2 separate regions of the Homo sapiens genome follow, and region 1 is linked to region 2. The links are contacts of gene promoters, found by promoter capture Hi-C in blood cells and fetal thymus (Javierre and others, 2016). All regions are on one chromosome and are shown on one strand. Each heading gives the region's core, a stretch centred on a gene start or on the middle of the fragment in contact. The rest is flanking DNA. Distances are from core to core; before and after follow the strand shown.

What was found. The method cuts DNA at HindIII sites, captures the fragments that hold promoters and counts their contacts. A CHiCAGO score of 5 or more calls a contact.
Region 1: a fragment that was not itself captured here is called in contact with the fragment with the promoter of MYO7A in region 2 in 1 of 17 cell types (M1 macrophages); the score reaches 5.5 in M1 macrophages.

Annotation. Positions count from the first base shown.
Region 1 is chr11:77,601,126-77,605,218 of GRCh38, forward strand. It overlaps AQP11 (aquaporin 11), which reads left to right. Exons shown (of 3, transcript NM_173039.3): 2 at 2,431-2,547. Among named protein-coding and RNA genes, the nearest start is that of AQP11, 13 kb to the left of the region's middle. The HindIII fragment of the contact is 307 bases long and covers 1,675-1,981 here.
Region 2 is chr11:77,126,599-77,130,598 of GRCh38, forward strand. It overlaps MYO7A (myosin VIIA), which reads left to right and starts at 1,648. Exons shown (of 49, transcript NM_000260.4): 1 at 1,648-1,891; 2 at 3,991-4,000. RefSeq lists enhancers at 334-1,056, 1,057-1,780, 2,503-3,226. The HindIII fragment of the contact is 18,517 bases long and covers 1-4,000 here.

The DNA.
Region 1 (4,093 bases), core at 578-3,077, 470 kb after region 2:
TGTTACGATGTGGGGAGAGGGAATAGGCCACTGCCATCTGAGTAGAGGCCAGGGATGCTGCTAAGCATGCTGCGGTGCACAGGACAGCTCACAACAAAGAATTATCCAGTAAGACATTAAAGCCAATGCCATGTTTTTAGTTTTTGTTAACACAGAACCCACACCTGACATGGATTTCTGTATCAGTTAACTATTGCTGTGTAACACACCATTCAAAACTTTTTTTTTTTTTTTTTTTTTTGAGACAGGATCTCACTCTGTCACCCAGGCTGGAGAGCGGTGGCACAATCTCGACTCACTGCAGCCTCAACCTCTGCAGGCTCAGTTTATTCTCCTGCCTTAGCCTCCCAAGTAGCTGGGACCACAGGCATGTGGCACCACAACCAGCTAATTTTTGTATTTCTTATAGAAACGGGGTTTTGCTATGTTGCCTGAGCTCATTACAAACTCCTGGGCTCAAGTGATCCACCCGCTTCAGCCTTCCAAGGTGTTAGGATTACAGGCATGAGCCACCATGCCTGGCCCCAAAACTGAGAATAACTTATTTTTCATGATTCTGTGGGTTATAGATGGGCAGTTCCTCTGAGATCTCTCATATAGCTGCATTCAGCTGACCAGTGGTGAGGCTGGAAAGCCCAAGGTAGCCTCACTCATATGTCTGGCAGTTGTCAGCTGTCATCTAAGATGCCTCAGTTCTCTTCCGTGTGGCCTTTCATCCTCCAGCAACCTAGACCAGCAAACTTACATGGTCAGGGCATTCTTCCAAGAGAGCAAAAAGTGGAAGCTGATGGGTTTATTGAGATGTGAACCTAGAATTCACACAGCATCACTCCTGTTACATTCAGAATTCCCATAGCCCTACTCTGCTGCATTCTATCAACACAAGTTGCAAAGCCAGCTCATTTTTAAGAGAGGGAAAGTAGACAACGTCTTGCTGGGAGAAGCAGCTACCACTAAGTCACACTGATCAGAACTGCTGTGTGAGGATGAGAAGATTAGGAAGTGAAGTCGTTTGAGTTTTAGGATGGCATAAGACTGATCAGTGGTGTTCATCTTAGATCTAGTGGAAAATCTTCAGTATACCATGGCCTTGAATACTGAAGTAAACTAAGTGAGGGTAATGATTCAGTCCATTTTTATCAATACATGCCTAAAAGTCACAGGTCATTTATATCATCATAGGTCATATTACATTATATTGTAAATGTCTGTGTGAGTCTTTATCTTTCTGCCCATGGTATCTAGTACACAGGAACTCAATAAGTTTTTGTGTAATCAAACTGAAATGACTAGCTGCCAACCAGACAATTCTGTTCACCCTTAGCAGTGGCAGGTTTAACATTCCAGGATTTGACTGTTCAAGAATGATTCCAAAGGTCTATGATATCATTTATAATTGCTGAGTCATGAATGTGAATCATGCTGTGAGGCTGGTACACTAGAAAAAACTCTTAGCTATTGAGTGAGCTTAGTTCATTGCTAAATATCTTCATCTCAACACAGCTTCATTGTTCTCGGCCTATTCAAGTGTGAAATCTCAGTAGTGAAATCTTATGAAAGGGCCACTTAATTTCCATGAAAACAGGCTACAATGGTGCATGTCAATAATAAAACTTCTGAAGATCTCAGGATCTATCTCTGTGGCTAAGTAAAAGAGGCAGAGTTGTGTGCCTAAGCTTCCACTTGGAAAAACTGCTGAAAATGTCACTGTCTGAGGGATGCTCTTAGGCTGGACTTTGAAAAGCGAAGACACAGCTCTGTGGAGTACTGCTGGACAGGCATCCAGCCTCCTCTTCCATTCCGCACTTGTGTGGCCAGACTATAGACTCCTAGCCCCATGCCAGAGAAATACCCTGGGTGCAGAGCTGGAACACAAATCCTAAAAAGTAGCCAACAGTTATAATTTGTGCTTATCTCTCATGACTACTCACAGTCCCTTCTTAAGGGCTCTGTTGACAAGTAAAAATAGAACCAATGATAAAGCTTTGGTCTATTGGTCCATTTTACCTTTTCAATACAAAGTTATGCTTGTACTCAAGAGGATCTTGGGTCATTGTATCTATTTAACTGTATTTTCATTTTACTTTTATTATTATTCATTCATTTAAATTGACAAATGTTCAGGGCAGCCAAATCTATTTTATAAAACGGTAGGAATAATAATAGAGCACATTAACTTTCAGTGTCCATTTTATAGTCTATAGGAAAAGCACTGGGTTCAAACTTTAATGTCCTCTGTCTTTTTTTTTATAGTAAGTGGCATATTATGATTTATGATTATAGTCTAAAATATGCCAGGTGATTCTGCAAAGGAAGATCACAGACTAAGAATACCTAAAATAAAAGTCACATTTAGTAACCATTTATTTCCAGTTACAAGGAAATGGAAGATAAATCATTTGAAATCACTCTGCTTAAAATCTGTTACAGGAGGAAGTCTAACAGGAGCTGTATTTAATCCAGCTTTGGCACTTTCGCTACATTTCATGTGTTTTGATGAAGCATTCCCTCAGTTTTTTATAGTATACTGGCTGGCTCCTTCTTTAGGTAAGCGTATTTTTATTTAATATGTCTGAAAGATTAGGGTATTTTAAAATATGATATGTGTATATCATTGTAACATGTCAATTTCCAAAGCCACAGCAGGCACAAAACAGAAAATGAAAAAGGTAGCTAACATGCCTGAAATAATACTTTGTGTAGTATCCTTTAAAACTGTTAAAGGTAGTCAGTTTCAGATATGCTATCACTTTAAGAAACCTTAGATCTGAGCACCAAAAAAGCAACGAGTGCTTACTTCCCTTCAAAAATAATCTTTTTTTTTTTTGCTAAAGAAATTTGTTTTTTCACATTTGTGAGCTCCAGATAAAGTATCATTTAGTTCATTTGACTCATTTTGCAGAACAGCATCTCATGAAACAATGAATACCTGTATTAAGTATAGTTTAAAAATTATCCACATTACATTCCTGTTATTTTTATTGTTTTTGTTTTGTTTTTTTTCGAGACAGGGTCTCTCTTTGTCACCCAGGCTTGAGGGCAGCGGCATGATCATAGCCATAGCTCACTGTGCTTGAACTCCTGGGCACAAGCAATCCTCCTGCCTTAGCCTCCTGAGTAGCTGGGATGACAGGCATGTGCCACCACACCCGGCTAATTTTTGTATATTTTGTAGAGATGAGGTCTCGCTATGTTGCTCAGGCTACATTCCAGTTACTTCTATTTAGATCAGATATATAAACTCTTTATAAAGATGGGTCAAATAACACACAAAATTATACAATATACAAAAAATTATTATGCATTTCTTTTGCATTACGTATATAAAGTTATCAGCATTTATTGATTTTGTTTAGTCATCTGTTTTAAGCCTGATTATAACTCATAACTGTAAGTGAATATGAAGATGCTTGGCCCTCCATTAATTCACTCTTCTTTTTATCCAGTTAGCATATTGTTCCTTGTTAGTCATTTTCTTTAAAACACACACACACATACACAGAAGGTAACACAGAAGGGAAGTGCCATAACAGGTTTGAATAGTCAATCACACTTTACTCTTCCTGTTTACCTTCCATTCCTCTATCTCACATTAATGTTATTGTTATGCTCAATATCATATTGTTATGCTCAATATTGTTATGCTCAATAATATCTATAGGCCTAAACATGAAGAATATCAGAGAAAAACTGGTTTTAAATGCTAGTAATATAACTTTTGGTCAGTTCTACAGAGTGCTAGTATTTTCCGATAACTTCTTTAAAGAAAAATTTTCTCTGTTTTTAGGCCGGGCGCAGTGGCTCACGCCTGTAATCCCAGTACTTTGGGAGGCCGAGGCAGGCAGATCATGAGGTCAGGGGATTGAGACCATCCTGGCTAACATGGTGAAACCCCGTCTCTACTAAAAATACAAAAAATTAGCTGGTCGTGGTGGCGGGCACCTGTAGTCCCAGCTACTTGGGAGGCTGAGGCAAGAGAATGGTGGGAACCTAGGAGGCGGAGCTTGCAGTGAGCTGAGATCGCACCACTGCACTCCAGCTTGGGCGACAGAGCGAGACTCCATCTCAAAAAATCCGTTTTTAAATTTTAAAG
Region 2 (4,000 bases), core at 398-2,897:
TGAGGGCAGATGCAGGCATCTAGGGCCAGGAAGCTGGTGTGGTGGTGGGGAGAAGCAGGGTTGGGATGACTGAAAGCAGAGTGGACGACTCAATGAAAAACGACTTGGGAGACGGGGTGAGTGCAGTGTGAGGGCAAAGTGAACCGAGATGCCTCGCTTTCTTCATGGGACTGAGAAATGGGTATTGCAAATCGTGTGATCTGCTTAGCATAGTGCCTGGTTCATAGCATGGCTGAACACAATGTAGCTGTCATCCTGGTGTTTGGAGGCCGCCCTGTCCCCCATAACCTGCCCACCTCTCTGCCCCATTCCCACAGCTCACTGCATTTTGTCCCTGCTGCCAGTCGTGTGCCATGGGCTCTCCTGTGCTCCCCCGGGGTCTCATTTCCCCATCCGTGTAGGGCTGACGCCACTGGCCCCGCCCAGCCTGGGAGGATGGAGAGGGGGGACTTGAGGAGTGGCCAGTACTGGGTTTCGGCAGCAGGTGCAAATCCCAGGTGGGGACTGTGTTCCAGGGACTCCTGGACTCCTGTTAGGCCAGCAGGCTAAGGGGCAGACGGCATCCTGGGGTCTTCCTGGGACAGGGTCGTCGGGTCTGAGGGGACCCAGGCCCTAGCAGAAGCTGACTCCTGTCACGGTCACTTCCCAGCGGTGCTCAGCCCGCCTGACGGAAGCAGCTGGGCAGTGGGGCCTGTGACCAGCAGGCGGCGCTGGCGAGCTATAGCGCCCCTTTGGGCCCCCACCCCACCTTCTGGGCAGCTTCCCTGCAGACACCCCAGTTATGGGGGCTAGGGACCCAAAAGAGACATCCTTCTGCCACCCAGAGCTGCCCTGGCGAGGTGCACTATGGGGCCGCCGACAGCTGCGTGGCTGCCGAGGGCGGAAAGGAGAAACTGTCATGTCCCGATAGGGCCGCGCGAGGTCTCCATCCTCGACAACGCTAATAACAAAGACGTGTGCTCCTCTTTGCTTGGTTCCCCCCACTCCTTTAAATCACAGATTTCACTTCAGTTTATCTGTGTCGCTGTCACACGTGGGGTGGCTCCCAGTCAGCTGGTTTGGCAAAGTTTCTGGATGATTACGGAATAACATGTGTCCCCAACCCGCAGAGCAGGTTGTGGGGGCAATGTTGCATTGACCAGCGTCAGAGAACACACATCAGAGGCAAGGGTGGGTGTGCAGGAGGGAGAAGGCGCAGAAGGCAGGGCTTTAGCTCAGCACTCTCCCTCCTGCCATGCTCTGCCTGACCGTTCCCTCTCTGAGTCCCAAACAGCCAGGTAGAGGAGGAAGAAATGGGGCTGAGACCCCAGCACATCAGTGATTAAGTCAGGATCAGGTGCGGTTTCCTGCTCAGGTGCTGAGACAGCAGGCGGTGTCCTGCAAACAACAGGAGGCACCTGAAGCTAGCCTGGGGGGCCCACGCCCAGGTGCGGTGCATTCAGCAGCACAGCCAGAGACAGACCCCAATGACCCCGCCTCCCTGTCGGCAGCCAGTGCTCTGCACAGAGCCCTGAGCAGCCTCTGGACATTAGTCCCAGCCCCAGCACGGCCCGTCCCCCACGCTGATGTCACCGCACCCAGACCTTGGAGGCCCCCTCCGGCTCCGCCTCCTGGGAGAAGGCTCTGGAGTGAGGAGGGGAGGGCAGCAGTGCTGGCTGGACAGCTGCTCTGGGCAGGAGAGAGAGGGAGAGACAAGAGACACACACAGAGAGACGGCGAGGAAGGGAAAGACCCAGAGGGACGCCTAGAACGAGACTTGGAGCCAGACAGAGGAAGAGGGGACGTGTGTTTGCAGACTGGCTGGGCCCGTGACCCAGCTTCCTGAGTCCTCCGTGCAGGTGGCAGCTGTACCAGGCTGGCAGGTCACTGAGAGTGGGCAGCTGGGCCCCAGGTAAGGATGGGCTGCCCACTGTCCTGGGCATTGGGAGGGGTTTGGATGTGGAGGAGTCATGGACTTGAGCTACCTCTAGAGCCTCTGCCCCACAGCCACTTGCTCCTGGGACTGGGCTTCCTGCCACCCTTGAGGGCTCAGCCACCACAGCCACTGAATGAAACTGTCCCGAGCCTGGGAAGATGGATGTGTGTCCCCTGGAGGAGGGAAGAGCCAAGGAGCATGTTGTCCATCGAATCTTCTCTGAGCTGGGGCTGGGGTTAGTGGCATCCTGGGGCCAGGGGAATAGACATGCTGTGGTGGCAGAGAGAAGAGTCCGTTCTCTCTGTCTCCTTTGCTTTCTCTCTGACACTCTTTATCTCCGTTTTTGGATAAGTCACTTCCTTCCTCTATGCCCCAAATATCCCATCTGTGAAATGGGAGTATGAAGCCCCAACAGCCAGGGTTGTAGTGGGGAAGAGGTAAAATCAGGTATAGACATAGAAATACAAATACAGTCTATGCCCCCTGTTGTCAGTTGGAAAAGAAATTAACTTGAAGGTGGTCTAGTTCTCATTTTTAGAAATGAAATGTCTGTCTGGTCATTTTAAAATGTGGCCCTTAAATTTCACGCCCTCACCACTCTCCCCCATCCCTTGGAGCCCCATGTCTCTAGTGAAAGCACTGGCTCTGCCCCCAGCCCTCATGGCTCATGCTGGCATAGGGCGCCTGCTCCACAGCCTGGGCACCATCTTCAGACAAGTGCCCGGTGGCAACTGCCTGCTGGCCCTGTTGAATCCACATCTCCACCAGGCATCCAGACTAGTTCAGGTCTCTGGAAGGACTGTGGGTTTGCTGTGTCCCAGAGCTCCAGGGCAGGGGTCAGGGCTCGGATGTCGGGCAGTGTCATGGGCAGAGGATCGAATGCCCCGGCGGCTCTGAATGGGCCCTTGTGAAAAATTGATGCGCATTCTAGGAGACAGGTTGGGAGCCAGAGGGGCCTCATACCAGGGTCTGTAGGCTGGGGCTGCCTTTTAAGCTCCTTCCTGAGGCCGTCTCTGGGTCTGGCCCTGTGCTGGACAAGGCTGGAGACAAGGCAATGTCTCAGACCCTCTCCCATTGGCCACATCCTGCCCTGGATCAACTCGCCAACTTTGGGGGCAGAGGTGGGACTGACCCTTACCCTGACAACATAATGCATATAGTCAAAATGGGATAAAGGGGAATATAGAGGCTCTTGGCAGCTTGGGAGTGGTCAGGGAAGGCTTCCTGGAGGAGGTATCATCTGAACTGAGCCATGAACCATAAGTGGAAATTCACTAGTCAAAATTTCAGGTAGAAGGGCCAGTGTGTGAAGGCCAGGAGATGGCAAGAGCTGGCGTATTTCAGGAACAGTGAGTCACTGAGGATGTCCAAGTATAAGGGTAGGAAAGGGAGTGAGCAGTGAGAGAAAAGACCGAGGCATCAGCAGGGGCCAGATTGTGCTGGGCCTAGCGGGGCGGGCCCGGGCCCGGGCCCAGGCCCAGGTGCGGTGCATTCAGCAGCACAGCCAGAGACAGACCCCAATGACCCTGCCTCCCCGTCAGCAGCCAGTGCTCTGCACAGAGCCATCCTGAGGGCAGTGGGTGCTCTTGAGAGGTTTCAGGCAGGGTGTGCTGTGAGCAGGTCATGCCCAGCCCTTGACCTTCTGCTCAGTCAGGCTTGTCCTTGTCACCCACATTCCTGGGGCAGTCCCTAAGCTGAGTGCCGGAGATTAAGTCCTAGTCCTAAATTTGCTCTGGCTAGCTGTGTGACCCTGGGCAAGTCTTGGTCCCTCTCTGGGCCCCTTTGCCGTAGGTCCCTGGTGGGGCCAGACTTGCTACTTTCTAGGAGCCCTTTGGGAATCTCTGAATGACAGTGGCTGAGAGAAGAATTCAGCTGCTCTGGGCAGTGGTGCTGGTGACAGTGGCTGAGGCTCAGGTCACACAGGCTGGGCAGTGGTCAGAGGGAGAGAAGCCAAGGAGGGTTCCCTTGAGGGAGGAGGAGCTGGGGCTTTGGGAGGAGCCCAGGTGACCCCAGCCAGGCTCAAGGCTTCCAGGGCTGGCCTGCCCAGAAGCATGACATGGTCTCTCTCCCTGCAGAACTGTGCCT